Regions from separate parts of the Homo sapiens genome. Here region 2 is linked to region 1. The links are contacts of gene promoters, found by promoter capture Hi-C in blood cells and fetal thymus (Javierre and others, 2016). All regions are on one chromosome and are shown on one strand. Each heading gives the region's core, a stretch centred on a gene start or on the middle of the fragment in contact. The rest is flanking DNA. Distances are from core to core; before and after follow the strand shown. Region 1 holds the start of DNAJC25 (DnaJ heat shock protein family (Hsp40) member C25). Region 2 holds the start of INIP (INTS3 and NABP interacting protein).

Region 1 (4,280 bases), core at 1,088-3,587:
ATAAATATATTTTAACTTTTTTCTATTTCTTTTCCTTTCCCAGAGCCACTACCTAGAAATAGACCTGTAGCATCTGTTACTTGGACTTTTTTTTTTTTTTTTCCTTTGAGACAGAGTCTTGCTCTGTCGCCCAGGCTGGAGTGCAATGGTGTGATCTCGGCTCACTGCAACCTCTGCCTCCTGGGTTCAAGCAATTCTCCCAGGCTCAGCCTCCTGAGTAGCTGGGATTACAGGTGCCTGCCACCATGCCTGGCTAATTTTTGTGTTTTTAGTAGAGATGGGGTTTCACCATGTTGGCTAGGCTGGTCTTGAACTCCTGACCTCAGATGATCCACCCACTTCGGCCTCCCAAAGTGCTGGGATTACAGGCTACTTGGACTCATAACTGTCTCCTAATGGTCTTCCTGATACATCCCAACTCATTTTCCCAGGCAGAGTAATGGTTCTGAAATGTCAATCCGAAGGTGTCACTTTTTGCTCAAAGACCCCATATTGGCCTTTCCATTGCTCTTAAGATAAGGAACAACTTCTTTGACATGGGATAAAATGACCCTTTGCAACTTGGCTTTCTCCAGTTTCATCTCCTACACTCCTTACCTCTACTCCTAGTCATATAGGTTGTCTTTCATTTTTTGAAAAGCTTTATTATTATTTTTTTCTTGCCCATGGCTCGTTTCTCTTCTTGGTACTTATTTCACACTCCCTTGTCCCCAAACTCCTCTCTAATTCACATCCTTCAAGCCATTCTCTATTCGTCCTCCAAAGTCAGTTTAGCTGTCAGCTCCTACTGGAATTGATGCTTGTAATTGATCCCGATCCTAATAATTTCAGGAGACCCTCCCATGTGTTTCCATTCATTTTATCTTTCTCATTATATATATATATAAGCATATATATAAGCCATATATAAGCATATATAAACATATATGAGATACAAATGTAAATAAGCATATATGATACACAAAATTGTTATTATATATATAACTTTTGTATCTCATTACATATACATGTATCTCTCTCATTACATATATAACTGTATATGTTGCTATATAGTCCCATGCAATATTTAGTGGGCTGAGGTGAAAAATAGACACATATATGTTATATATGTAATGACAGAGACATATATGTGTAATGAGATTATATATATTATATATGTAATGAGGGAGATATATGTAATGAGAGATATATATTTATTCAATGAGAAATACAAAATTATAATGTATATTCATTATGTATTATAAGTATATAATGCTATGTATCAGTATTTGATTTCACTTTATTAAAAGAGTTGATTATATCTGAACGTTTATTTATTTGTTACTGACTGTCATCCTCCATCAGAATATATGCTCTCTGAAGTTGAGCTTCTTGTTTACTTTGCTCACCACTGTATCCCCAGTGCCTAAGTAACAGTGCCCGGCTCAGAGTAGAGACTCAATAAACATTTACCAGATGAATGATAGAAACAGATTTTTTGAGGCAAAGTTTTTCATGTTGCCATATAGTCCCATGCAATATTTTGGACATACTTATACTAAAAAATTATTATCTGAAATTCAAATGTAGGCCGGGCACGGTGGCTCACGCCTGTAATCCTAGCATTTTGGAAGGATCGCTTGATCCTTCCAGCAGGTTGTCCCGGGAACGCGCAGCCCAAGGTGGACGCACAGACCCGCGTACAGAGATTTTTTATTGTCATGACTGGGGGTGGTGGCACTACTGGCATTTAGTGTGGAGAGGCCAGATATGCTGCTAAACATCTTACAATGCAAAGGGCAGCCCCTCAAAGGCAAAGAATTATCTGGTCTAAAATGTCAATAGCGTGGAGGCTGAGAAAAACTGAACTAGATGGCTATGAACTTTCAGGGTCCCTACCTAGTACACAGGCAGCGCCTAGAATTGCTAAGTTCATCTTCCGTTTGGAAAGGCAGCATGGGGTTAGTGAGAGGAAGGCGCCCGGGGCTGGTGGCTGGCTTTAAAGGCCTACGTGCAAATCTTCTTGACGCTGATAACGGGATGCGAGAGAGCCAGGTAGGTTACCTATTGCAGCAGGTCAAGTGATGATGTCGAAAAGGATGCGTGTGCCGGACACTGTGGAAGGTAAAGCGCTCCGCACAGCCCGCCTAAGTGCGCCCGGGACAGAGCCATCCCCCAGGTGCTACCAAACAAATCCTCCAGCTGCTGGTACGGGGAAGGTGTTCAGTGACACACCGGAAGCAGCCTAGTGGCTGAGGCGTCCTTCTCCCTACCAACGGGTTGCGAAGGAAGTAGTTGCTGTAGCCGCGCCCTGTGCGCCTGCGCGGAGGCGTCGGCTGCTGACGTGTAGCTGGGGCCAGACGGGACTAGCCGGGCGCGCGGCTGAGTGCTGCAGAATCGCTGGGGTGGCAGAGCCGCCAGCGAGGCTGGGGATGGGGGCGCCGCTGCTCTCTCCCGGCTGGGGAGCCGGGGCTGCCGGCCGGCGCTGGTGGATGCTGCTGGCGCCCCTGCTGCCGGCGCTGCTGCTGGTGCGGCCCGCGGGGGCCCTGGTGGAGGGGCTCTACTGCGGCACGCGGGACTGCTACGAGGTGCTGGGCGTGAGCCGCTCGGCGGGCAAGGCGGAGATCGCGCGGGCCTACCGCCAGCTGGCCCGGCGCTACCACCCTGACCGCTACCGGCCCCAGCCCGGAGACGAGGGCCCCGGGCGGACGCCGCAGAGCGCCGAGGAGGCTTTCCTGCTGGTGGCAACCGCCTACGAGACACTCAAGGTGAGGCCTGCGGGCGTGGAGGGGCTTCGAAGACTGGCCGCGGGAAGCCCACGGCGCCTTCCGACCCCGGTCCGCGGAGCGTGGGCCTCTGTGACCCCGAAACTGAGCACAGCCACCACCGCGACCTTTAAGATACTCACGTTTCCCACGTGGCCCTGTGAAAGAGCCGAGTCGGCCCCACGGGGCCTTGGGGGGCACAGCTAGCCTCCTTGCCCTCTTCCTTTTTGTGACATTGTTATGCAAAACTTTGGCCATCTTACGATTTCGTGAAAATATTTTAATAACGTGCATTTCACATTCGAAAAGCAGGGTGATCATTATTAGTAGGATCTGGGGTAGCCCACAACAGGGAAAGTCTCGAATATCAAGTGACAACTGTGATCGCATCAGTTTGATATGACAGAAAATTGGTTTCTGGAAATAGTGTTAATGGTGACGCTTAGTTTGGGTTTAAGGAACTAAGAAAACACTGAGAAGAACAATGAACACCAGTCAAAAGGCTGGATGTGAGTCTTTGCTGTGACACCCCTGTATGACCTTGGATAGTGACTTATTATGTTGAAATAGCTGTTTCTTCATATGCAAAATTAAGGCCATGATACCTCCTCTCAGAGTTATTATGGGGATTAAATGATAAGTGTGCGAACCGCCCCCCTTTCCATAGGATCCATAAATAGGTGCTTAATGACTTGGGTACAAAACTCTGAGAATTTCTAGTAGGAAATATTTTGTGAATATGTATTTGTATTTCATTTGACAGGTTTTATTGAGTCTTGTGGGGATGAGAGATTTAGCCCGATGCTGTTTTCTTCTACTACTGCAAAAAATCAAACCATCTAGGACATCACGAAGTATAAATCGTACTTGATGGTGGTATTACTGCTTGAAGGGCCCCATCATACTAATGCGTCAGCGATTGTAGTTGTAAAGTATTTCTTTTCTAGCCTTTTTTTTTTTTTCCCGAGGCAAAATTTTCTATGTTGCCAGGTAGCCTGCTTTTAATGATTGTACTTTGAGTGGATATAATTTTACCTTGGATTGTTCCTCCAGATTGTTTTTCCAGAGCTGAAAATAGTCAAGGAGCTAACAACTTTATTGATGCCTTCCAGAGCAGTTTGGATAATTTGGAGTCATAAAATGAGTGGTGGAGGGGCGGGCCCTGAACTAGGTAAACTAGGTGAATTGAACTAGGTAAAATTTAATTTACCTAGTTCATTAAATTCTCACTAGCGTTAGTGAGATTGTAATTTTTATTGGCAGTTAACTGAGGGATGGCTGGGGAACTGGGAAAGTGCTGAGGCCCCAAAGGGCTTTGTTGCCGATTATGTAAAAAGTGATGGAAAAAAGACTCCAGAAAAAATAGGAAAGAACTCTCCATCCAAGGCACTTCAGCATATGAAGCTCCAACCTCTGTTCCTTGTAGTCAGCCAGAAGCCCTGCTGGTGCGTGAGGGAGCCCTGGACCAGTGTGTGAAATCATAATGGGATTTACTAGGGATAGTAAAATTGATAGGATTAGGGATGTTAATCATGT
Region 2 (4,280 bases), core at 538-3,037, 1.1 Mb after region 1:
CCGCTCCCGGCCTGCTATTCATTTTTTAAATTCTGGCTACAGTAACTGCCCTATGCTAAATTTTCTCTTATTCAAATACATTTACTATATTGGGGAAATGTTCATAGTAAAGAAATTCCTGCTGTCATTACCTTGTCCTGAAGAGTTTGCTGCCATTTTCCTATTTTGTTTCAAGTATGTCCAGTGGCAATTGGTCAGCACTTCACAATCACCTATAAAATATGTGTACACACATATACAATGCACCATATTTTAATCACAAACTAAAAGGAACAGCTAGCCTCCTTACAATGAAATGTTTGCTGTTTCTTAATCTCTTCAGAAAGATACATTTGTGCCGGGCGCGGTGGCTCACGCCTGTAATCCCAGCACTTTGGGAGGCCGAGGCGGGCGGATCACGAGGTCAGCAGATCGAGACCATCCTGGCTAACATGGTGAAACCCAGTCTCTACTAAAAATAAAATTAAAAAAAAAAATCAGCCGGGTGTGGTGGCAAGCGCCTGCAGTCCCAGCTACTCGGGAGGGCGAGACGGGAGAATCACTTGAACCCGGGTGGCGGAGGTTGCAGTGAGCCGAGATCGCGCCACTGCACTCCAGTTTGGGCCACAGAGCGAGACAGCGAGACTCGGTCTCAAAAAAAAAAAAAAAGAAAAGAAAGAAAGATACATTTGAAATGTACACAGACTGAAACAAATGTAAACTCTGCTAGTGCCTCAAGCATTTAATTAAATACGGCATTGTTTATTCTTGCAGATGTTCATACCATTTAGCATTACTGTCTTTAATAAACGTCATTAGGTTGTATTTACCAAATATATCAACCAATTGATAGAGTCAATATAATCATGGTGCTAGGAAGAAAAATCATTCATCTATGGTGTCTCTGCATTCGTCTAAAACACATACCCAAAAACTACTGTGTACACTGAAAGCTAAAAAAGGTAAAGGAGTACTGTATCTGCTCTGCACCATACACTGTGTAACATGCTCGAAATTAGTTCCTTTATTTATTTATCACCATTTTATAGATGAGGAAACCGTACCCAGGGTCATAGAGCTAGTAGGAATTATTTGGGCTGCTGGTTTCCAAACTTCGTGCTTTCGTACTAAATCCTGGGGAGATCCAAGATGAGCAAGACCCTAATCCTGCTTTCAGAAGGGAAAATAAAGTCTTATTCAAGCAACCATACTATTAATTAAAAAAAAAAAAAGCTTAACAAACCCGCTCTTTAAAAGGTGGGCACAGTGCCGGAGGCAAAGAATTGATTTCATTGGCAGCAAAGAGTGATGCCTTAGTCTAGGGAGCCCGGGAAAGACACAAGGGATAGAAAACAGACACCGGTTTTTAGTAAATGAATCGTTAGGTGTCTCCAGCGGCTGAAACACAGAGCGAGCAATGCGGGGTTAGGACTGGAGGACAACAGGGCCATCTTGTGACAGGGTAGACTGGCGTGCCAGAAAGGTCCCTGCCTACGGATGTGCAGAGCCGGCTGGGCCCGGGCTGTGAACGAGACGAAGGAAGCAAGTAGGAGCCAGAAATGTTAGGTGGCAAGGTCGGAAGGGAGGTCGCTGCCTGTAGCAACAAAGACGGCGGCGACAGGTTAGCACCGGAGCCACACTTTTCTATTGCCCGGTGCCTCCAGACTGTCGTACTTACCTGGGACCCGAGGACACCGGGACCGCCTCTCCTTACAATCGCTGCTCTTAAAGGGGGCGCGACCACTTAGGCAAGAGGAGCTCAACTCGCGGCACTACAACCTTCCCGCCCCCGCTGCGCTTCCGCCTCCTGACTGACGTGCGCCCCAGGGAGCGGAAACCCCGCCTCCCGCCGGGACCCAACGGCCACCGCCCGTCGTGATTCGCACTTTAGCGGCCACCTCAGTGCAGACGTCACTTTTTTTTCCAAAGAGTGACAGTCGAAGAGGCTCACGGGAGATGCAAACGGTACTTTTGGGGGCTGGGCCAGGGTGGGGCGTGGCCCGGGGCGGGGGAGGGGCGGGGCTGCCAGGCAGGGGCGGGACGGAGAACACCTGGGTCCCTAGCACCAAGACTGGCTTTTTATTCATTGCCACCGCCTGGCCGGTCTTGCGACGGTGCGAGTCCACCTCGGCTGGGCCTCGGAGGAGGGGCGACTCTAGAAGCTAAACTCGCTTTCGAGCTTTAACAACCATCTCGGATTGCGCATCCGCACACACACACACACACACACACACACACACACAAATTCAGGAATATTTTTTGTCTACAGTTTACATAATTATACACAATGAAAGCACTGAATATGGAGGATTTTTATTACAGTGCAATAATCTGCATTTAAGAAGTGGATGTGCCACATCGCAGAACACCAAGTTGCCACTAGTGGGATCACCTGCTGCCCACCTGATTCCAGCACAGTAGATAGCTACACATTTGAATTAAAAGGTAATCGTATATTGACATGTGTTCAAATTGCACTCTTTTTAATTTAAAAAAATATTTTTTATGGTGACAGTGTCTCGCTTTGTTGCCCAGGCTGGTCTTGAACTCCTGGCCTCAAGGGATCTGCCCACCTCAGCCTCCCAAAGTGCTGGGATTACAGGCGTGAGCCACCTGCCCTGCTTAAAATTGCAGTGTCTTAATCTCTTCCGAAAGATACATTTGAAAAACGCACAGACTTAAATCACAAATGTAAGCTCCCCAAGCGCCTCAAGCATTTAATTAAATAGAATGGATAATGAATTTGAACATATGTTTTTAATAATTGATGTTTGCTCAAGAGTAAAATGTTTATGATGCACAATTTTCTTGTGCATGGATCAATGACTGAAATAATCGTTTCAATATCAAGTATTTATTTACTGAAAACCAAGCATGTATTTACTCTATACCAAGCAGCTATTGAGTGCCTTCTACAATGCGAGGTGCTTCCTGTGCATCAGCTCTGGTCCTGCTGTTCCCTGATTTATATTTGAGACTCATGTTTCTTGCTCTATGTCAAGTAGCGAGCTAAGATTCAAATTTAAAGATCTGCCAGATGCTAAGGCCTGAGTTCTTAAATCTCACACATTGCCTCTGCTCTGGAGGAATGAATTCCTCTGAGACCAGTTCTTGCTGACTTGACTTTAATCCAGATATAAAGCCTAACACATGAGCATTTTGATGGTAGGCCAGGAGTCCTTTCAGTTAAGAGGACTTGGTGAGTTCTAGTATGACTAAAAAGATGACTGAGATCTATATGGCTGATAGAACCTTAGAATTTTTTTTTGTTTTGTGGCCTAGCTAATATAGAAACTAGGGCACAGAAAGTTCCAGTCTAAGTTTCAAATGGACATTCTGAACAAAGCTTATTTAAGGAGGTGGGAGTAAAAACAGTTCTAACCCTAAACAACATTTTATAATTTCTTAGCAAATTCAGCCTCTGAGAGTTGAAAGAACATTATCAGGAGAAAGATAAATTTAACTTGCTGCCAATTCTTTTGCCTTTTACTTGGTAGGTCATAGCCCTTGAAACCCTTCTGTCTTCTCCTAGAGTTTTTGGAACTTCTGCCTCATTGTGTTAACCTCTAACACAGTGGTTAATAGTGAGTCAGTTTACTTGAATGCAAATTCGAGCTTTGCCACTTAATGATGGTGAGCCCTGGTTTAACCTTTTGGTGCCTCTGTTTTGTCATCTATAAAATGGGAATAAAAATAAGTGATTGGGTATACGTAAATCACTTAGAATAGCACCTGGCACATAATAAGAACTCAATAAATGTTGACTATTAGAATATAAACAATGAACAATCTGTTTTACTGGGTGTCTTGGCAAGTGGTCAGTAGATCAGCTGAGCCTGGGTGTGGTGGCTCATGCCTGTAATCACAGCACTTTGGGAGGCCAAGGCAGGAGGATTGCTTGAGACCAGCCTGGGCAATATAGTGAGACCTCATCTCTAGAAAAAAATCTAAAAAATTTGCCAGGTACGGTGGTGGGTGCCTGTGGTCCCAGCTACTTAGGAGGCTGAGGTAGGAGGATTGCTTGAGCCCGGGAGGTCAAGGCTACAGTGAGCTATGATTGCGCCACTGCAGTCCAGCCAGGGCAACAGAGCAATAGACCCTGTCTCCAAAAAAAAAAAAAAAAAAAAGAAAAAGAAAAAAAAAAAAGAAAAAAAACGTCAGCTGAGAAATATACTAGGGGAAAGTCCAAGACAGAAGGAGTGCATGTTATAGCCCCTTGGCTCTATTAACTGATAGCTGTCTGTGAATTACTTTATCCTGAAACCACTGTGGTTACAGACCTTCAGTATCAAGGTAGAGTT

The links. The method cuts DNA at HindIII sites, captures the fragments that hold promoters and counts their contacts. A CHiCAGO score of 5 or more calls a contact.
Region 2: a contact is called between the fragment with the promoter of INIP here and the fragment with the promoter of DNAJC25 in region 1, in 2 of 17 cell types (fetal thymus and naive CD4 T cells). The highest score is 6.6, in fetal thymus.

Annotation. Positions count from the first base shown.
Region 1 is chr9:111,628,997-111,633,276 of GRCh38, forward strand. It overlaps DNAJC25 (DnaJ heat shock protein family (Hsp40) member C25), which reads left to right and starts at 2,338. Exons shown (of 4, transcript NM_001015882.3): 1 at 2,338-2,747. The coding sequence starts at 2,412. DNAJC25-GNG10 (DNAJC25-GNG10 readthrough) reads left to right here and starts at 2,338. Exons shown (of 3, transcript NM_004125.4): 1 at 2,338-2,747. The coding sequence starts at 2,412. LOC107987116 (a long non-coding RNA gene) reads right to left here and starts at 2,207. Exons shown (of 2, transcript XR_001746897.2): 1 at 2,044-2,207. RefSeq lists enhancers at 2,202-2,291, 3,022-3,071 and a silencer at 2,382-2,671. The HindIII fragment of the contact is 9,325 bases long and covers 639-4,280 here.
Region 2 is chr9:112,716,330-112,720,609 of GRCh38, forward strand. INIP (INTS3 and NABP interacting protein) reads right to left here and starts at 1,788. Exons shown (of 5, transcript NM_021218.3): 1 at 1,658-1,788; 2 at 132-212. The coding sequence starts at 156. RefSeq lists an enhancer at 1,370-1,469 and a silencer at 1,840-1,999. The HindIII fragment of the contact is 2,113 bases long and covers 1,211-3,323 here.